Linked DNA regions of Homo sapiens: region 2 is linked to region 1. The links are contacts of gene promoters, found by promoter capture Hi-C in blood cells and fetal thymus (Javierre and others, 2016). All regions are on one chromosome and are shown on one strand. The core of a region is centred on a gene start or on the middle of the fragment in contact, and the rest is flanking DNA. Distances in the headings are between cores, read along the strand shown.

Region 1 (2,762 bases), core at 157-2,656:
CTCACGCCTGTAATTCCAGCACTGTGAAAGGCCGAAGCGGGTGATCACTTGAGGTCAGGAGTTCGAGACCAGCCTGGCCAACATGGTGAAGCCCCGTCTCTACTAAAAATACAAAAATTAGATGGGCATGGTGGTGGGCGCCTGTAGTCCCAGCTACTCAGGAGGCTGAGGCAGGAGAATCACTTGAACGTGGGAGGCGGAAATTGCAGTGAGCTGAGATTGTGCCACTGTACTCCAGCCTGGGTGACAGAGCTAGACTCCAGCTCAAAAAAAAATAAAAATAAAAATAAAAATAAAACAGTTCAGCTTTGGCCTAGGTAAAACGACACGAGAAGACAGCTGGGGGAGAGGATCAAAATGGTGACGGGAAGGGGTGAATGCTAAGAATGTGATGCAACTTTAGAGAAAACATTGTAGTGAGGAGGTCACTGACGGGAAGTTGATACTCAGGGTGTATCATCCCGTATTTGAGAAATTACAACTTGCCAGCCATTCTTCTAAGAGCTTCACATATATTTAATCTTCACACCAGCCCTAAGAGGTAGGGAAAAGGTACATGCTCCATTATCCCCATTTCACATATGAGTAACTCAGAGAAGCTTAGAACCTTGCCCAGGATCACACAGCTCAGTTGGTGGGAGGGCTGGGATTCGACGTCAGGCCTGTCAAGCTCCAGAGCCGCGTTCTTAGCCGCTGCATTTTAGCTTCATACCTGGAAGAAGCAGCAAGGTTTAGGGAAGGGGCGCCGGGAGCGCCGCAGGCCGGGCCAGTGAACACTGAGGGCCAGCAGGGCTGGGCGGGGTGGGTGTGTGCGGGAGATCTCTGAGGACGGCGAAGCCAGACGGGGGCCGGGGCCGGGCCCGGGCTTGGGGAGGCCGGGACGGCCGGAGCAGCGGCGCGGAGGCTGCGGGCGCCGAGGGGGCCCGGGGCTGGCGGGTGGAGGGGCCCCGCCGAGAGGAGACGGGGGCACAGGTGGATGCGAAGAGCGCACCGGATGTGGGACACCAAAGGGGAAGGGGCCACAGGCGCGCGGCGGCGACTCCGGGGTGACATCGAGACAGCCTCTGGGCTGGGAGAGCCCTGCGGGAAGAAGGGAGCCCGCCCGGTCCGGAGGGGAGCGAGGCGGTTCTGAGGGAGGCCGGCGGAAAGGACCCGGGGCGCGGCGCACGCTGGGCCGCCCGGGACGACCCTGCGGGTGGTGATGGTGGCAACATCCAAGGGAGTCTGTTGGGGGGGCCTGAGCGCGACCGTGGGCGGGGGGGTCTCCTCAGGGGCGGCTCACCCGGAGGACTGGGCGGCGTCCCCGCTGTCCCCGGGCTCCGCCGCGTCCCGGGGCTGCCCGGCTTCCCTGCTTTCGGGGCCACGGGCCGCGTCGCGGCTGCTCCGCCATCTCCGAGCGAACGCTCTGCCGCAGCCTGGCCCAACCACCGCTCCCACCGGGGGAGGCGGCGCGCCGCCGCTGGTGGCACCCGCTCGGATCCACCGGCTCCGGCCCTAGCAGCCGCGCGACCTGGGTTCCGGGAAATCAAGCGGCCCTCCGCAGTGCCGGGCCGAGCCGCGGCCTCCGAGACGGCGGGCTCCGCGCCCCGCCCGCGGAAGCGCACCCCCTCCTCTCCGCGCGATGGCACTGCCGGCCGAGCGTCGGGGACCACGACTTCGGAGCAGGGGCGGGCTCAGGCCTGGGCTCATCCACTCAGCCCCGCGGAGGGGGAGCCGGGCCGGCCCACTCGGGGGAGGGGAGGAGTAAGAGGCGGAGCGGCCTAACCGGAGGCGGGACCAGGGGCGGGGCGAGGCCCTCAGCCGGCTCCCAGGGCACTCACCCTCCCTCCCCGCCCCGCGTCGCCTGCGCAGCACCGAGCGCTGTTTGGAGGCTGTTTATGAGAAGTTTTTTTTTTTTTTTTTTTTTTTTTTTTTTTTTTTTGAGACGGAGTCTCACTCTGTCGCCTGGGCTGGAGTGCAGTGGCGCGACCTCGGCTCACTGCAACCTCCCCCTCCCAGGTTCAAGCGATTCTCCTGCCTCAGCCTTCCGAGCAGCTGGGATTACAGGCGCCCGCCACTATGCCCAGCTAAATTTTTTGTATTTTTTAGTAGAGACGGGGTTTCACCATATTAGCCAGGCTGGTCTCGAACTCCTGACCTCGTGATTCGCCCGCGTCGGCCTCCCAAAGTACTGGGATTACAGGCATGAGGAAGTTTTATTCTCAAAAGTACCCAAAGGGAGTAGGAGGAGGTACTCTCTCCAACCTGGTAAGCCAGGCTGCTAAAATCTACGCCTCTGGCCGTAAACCTCCAACAGCAGTAACACAATGGACTGTTTAAAGGTTATTTTATTAAATATTTTCAGTTCAAGGTTTCATTGTAACAAAGCTATGAAGGGTCTACCAACATTCAGAACAAACACTATTTTTAAATTATTTCTATGTTGTCATGCAAAAATTCTGCATCAAATGCCTTCCGTTTCTTGTTTAAAAGGTGATTTTTTAATAGTCTATTGTCTATAGATGCTGACATTAGCCCCAGAAGAGGAGTAAGAATGCTAAGAAGTGGGGCTGGAGCAGCCATATGAAGCTATGGGTCTCAATGAATTCTAAGACCATTTGTCTTCAAGCCAGCAAAACGAAACCCTGTGGTGAAGGGATTTGCGTGCTGGCACTGCAGACTGCAGGGCAGGAAAGGGCTAGGGCCCAGGGGCTGGGACATGCATGAGGTGCTCGGAGGAGCCTGGCTAAATCCAAGCACCAGCACCTGTGAGTCTGCTCTCT
Region 2 (2,762 bases), core at 113-2,612, 300 kb after region 1:
GTGAAGCTTTTCTTGTTGAGAAAGGATGTCTTCTCGGAAAGGATGAAGGACCATGAAAGACCCAGAAAGAAGAGTCTATTTGGAGTCACCCTCTCTCTCTCCTTTGGTTCCTGTGTTGCCAATAGCATATTCCTCTTCTTACCTGTGCTTTAGTGAGATGTTTCTGACACCTGATGGTTTCTCCTTCAAGCTTGCAAAAGCCAGAGTCAGGGTGCCTGTGATTTGAGAAGAGGATTCCTGTCCTTTGTCCATTAGAGTGCCAGGTGCCTTGACCTTAGCATTTGGGGTCTTTTAGAAATTGCTTATCTTTCTTGGAACTGCAAATGTTTTTAGATGCTACATTGCTAATGATCAGAGCTCCAAATATGAATTGTGTGGGCTGTGCTAAAGCTAGATGAAATGTTTGCATTTTCTTTTTTTTTCCACAGAAGCAAGTAGATTGGTATCTTAGAAGCCATGTGCTTTTGTCCTTTCTCAGAATCATTTCACCTGTCAACTCAAGACAGCTCCAGGCTGTCTCTTACTCAGCAAATCTGAAGGTGTAAATATTAATGTGGTTGGTAAAAATATGGATGCTACAGCAGTCTTGCCCTATGAATAACTTTTGCCTATTTTCCCCTAAATGATGAAAAGTGAGCAGTAGCTTTTCTAGATAAGAGGAATATTATTGCTAACCCTGCAGTGAAAGGTAGCTCTTAGTTCTAAACTGTTTCTAATATGACCCTAGATCTTTTTTTTAATGTTTTTATGACCCTAGATCTTTATTCCCACCACCTATTTGCCTTTATTCTTTACACATCCTCAAAGCTTTCAAGCTCTTGTGTCGATTGTATTTCCTCAGGGACCTCCTGCACCTGCAGCTGATCTTGGATTTTTTTCAGGCTGGGAAATTCACATTGGTTTTTAACTCTGTATTTTGCTGAACTGTTAGCTGTGAGCCCAGGTTCTAAGAAGGAAGGGAGACTTTGCTGGTGTTGGACCTGACCTGTAGAATTATTTATAATGGTATCTCTCCAACTGCATGTGGCAGAGCCCCACTGTGCATGGGGAGTGGGGGAGGGTGACAGTGAAGATTTTAAAGGAAATTTAAATTTCATTACAATGAACCAAAATACACTATGCAGAACAAAAAATATACATGAATTATTTAAAAAAACAAACAAACTTAAAAGCAGACAGCATTGGCCCACATTACTTGCCCCACTCTGCCATTTGTGGCCAGAAGTCCTGAGGTCTATCTCCTGAAGTGTGCAAGATCAGGAGTTTGCTGACTTTGAGTTGTGTGAAGTCAGAAGCTACTTGAACCATGTGTGTACTGGGCTGGGGAGGAATATCTGTTCGTGTGTCTGTCAACCTATCTGTCTTTGTACACTGTGGGACTCTGAGCCTTAGCAGCAGTGAGCTGGCTTTTCTTCTGAGCAGCAGAGATGGGTCTTGGTTGAGTTTAGGCAAAAGAGTTTAGATGGTATCTGAACCCCTTGTTGGCCCTGAATCCTCCAACATCGTCACCCTTTGGAGTCAGGTTTCATGTGCAGGTTAAGACTTTTAGGAGTGGTAACAACCTCAAAGAAAATTCCATATAAACTACTTCCTCTTGAGTACAGATGTTTGATGTAAAGAACCTGTATTCATCATTCTTTGTATAAATGGTTTGGCTTCATTGTGGCAGTTTTTAATTTTCTTTCCATGTTAGTCTATTTTCAGCATCTGGCTTTTATAATCTCCATCCCTGGTTCTAAATTCATGTTCTCTCCATCATGATTCTCATTCTTAAATGAGCACCATTCTTCTGAGCTTCTGTGAGCTCAGCTGCAGTCACTTGCCAAGTTCACATATTATTCTATCTGTGAACTAGATAAGCAGAGTTTGGGGTGAGTGAGAACCTATTTTGCAAGCAATTTAGGTTGTACCCAAGGAGAAGCTTTCTGAGGTGGTACTAGCAATGGATGCAAAAAGAGATGGTAGAAGCTTTGCCTCAGAAGACCTTGAGGGGATAGAGAGCTGGTCTGATGTGTGGGTGTTCCCTGAGATGGGCGGCTGACGAGGTGGCTTCTTGAGGCTCCTTACAGCTGGGTGACAGTGGGGTACTTAAGTTCTCTTCAGTCACCATTGTGTTTGTTTTTCCTGCCTCTTTCCTAGTTTGGTATTCGTTACCTCTGATGTATCATTTTTAATTCTGGGACTTTTAACTCATGAAGGAAATAATCTATGTCTGGCAGCTGCAGAGCTGACCCAAATTGCCTCCTGTGTCCCAGGAAAATGTAGAACAGTGACCATATGATCCAGCAGTGTTCACTTTGTTCTGTACAAAGTAACTTGTGTGGCTGCATTTACTTTTTCTCTCCGGATTCCTTTTAAAGGTAATTTGCTACTATCGTTTGGTTGTTTGGCTCCTCAGAAATATTCTCATGTGAGAATCACTCTTGTCAAGTTTGACTTTAGTATCAAGTATATTAAAGAAATGGATGCCACTTGCTTTCTTGGTGTAAAGATTTCTCTAGAAGCCCTTTGCCATTGGAGTGAGTCCCTTTTCTTCTCTCACCACACAGTGGCTTGGGCTGAGTGGCGCTGGAGGCTGAGAATTCCCCCTTCTGTGAAGCTTGGTACACAAGGCTCCTAGAGAACATGTTTCTTTCTCATCCTAGGCAGGCTTTGGTTACTAAACCAGCTGAAGCCCAGTTTCCCAAGTCGTATTGCTCTTACTAACACTATCCCTATTTCTCATCCTTCCCGCCATCGACAAAGCCGGGCATCCCAGCCGC

The links. The method cuts DNA at HindIII sites, captures the fragments that hold promoters and counts their contacts. A CHiCAGO score of 5 or more calls a contact.
Region 2: a fragment that was not itself captured here is called in contact with the fragment with the promoter of NDST2 in region 1 in 1 of 17 cell types (M0 macrophages); the score reaches 5.2 in M0 macrophages.

The regions. Positions count from the first base shown.
Region 1 is chr10:73,810,192-73,812,953 of GRCh38, forward strand. NDST2 (N-deacetylase and N-sulfotransferase 2) reads right to left here and starts at 1,407. Exons shown (of 15, transcript NM_003635.4): 1 at 1,283-1,407; 2 at 608-712. CAMK2G (calcium/calmodulin dependent protein kinase II gamma) reads right to left here. Exons shown (of 23, transcript NM_001367534.1): 23 at 2,310-2,762. NDST2-ZSWIM8-AS1 (NDST2-ZSWIM8-AS1 readthrough) reads right to left here and starts at 1,629. Exons shown (of 18, transcript NR_182658.1): 1 at 1,283-1,629; 2 at 608-712. RefSeq lists silencers at 842-911, 1,212-1,921. The HindIII fragment of the contact is 9,520 bases long and covers 598-2,762 here.
Region 2 is chr10:74,109,164-74,111,925 of GRCh38, forward strand. VCL (vinculin) reads left to right here. Exons shown (of 22, transcript NM_014000.3): 19 at 2,746-2,762. Among named protein-coding and RNA genes, the nearest start is that of AP3M1, 40 kb to the right of the region's middle. The HindIII fragment of the contact is 1,114 bases long and covers 806-1,919 here.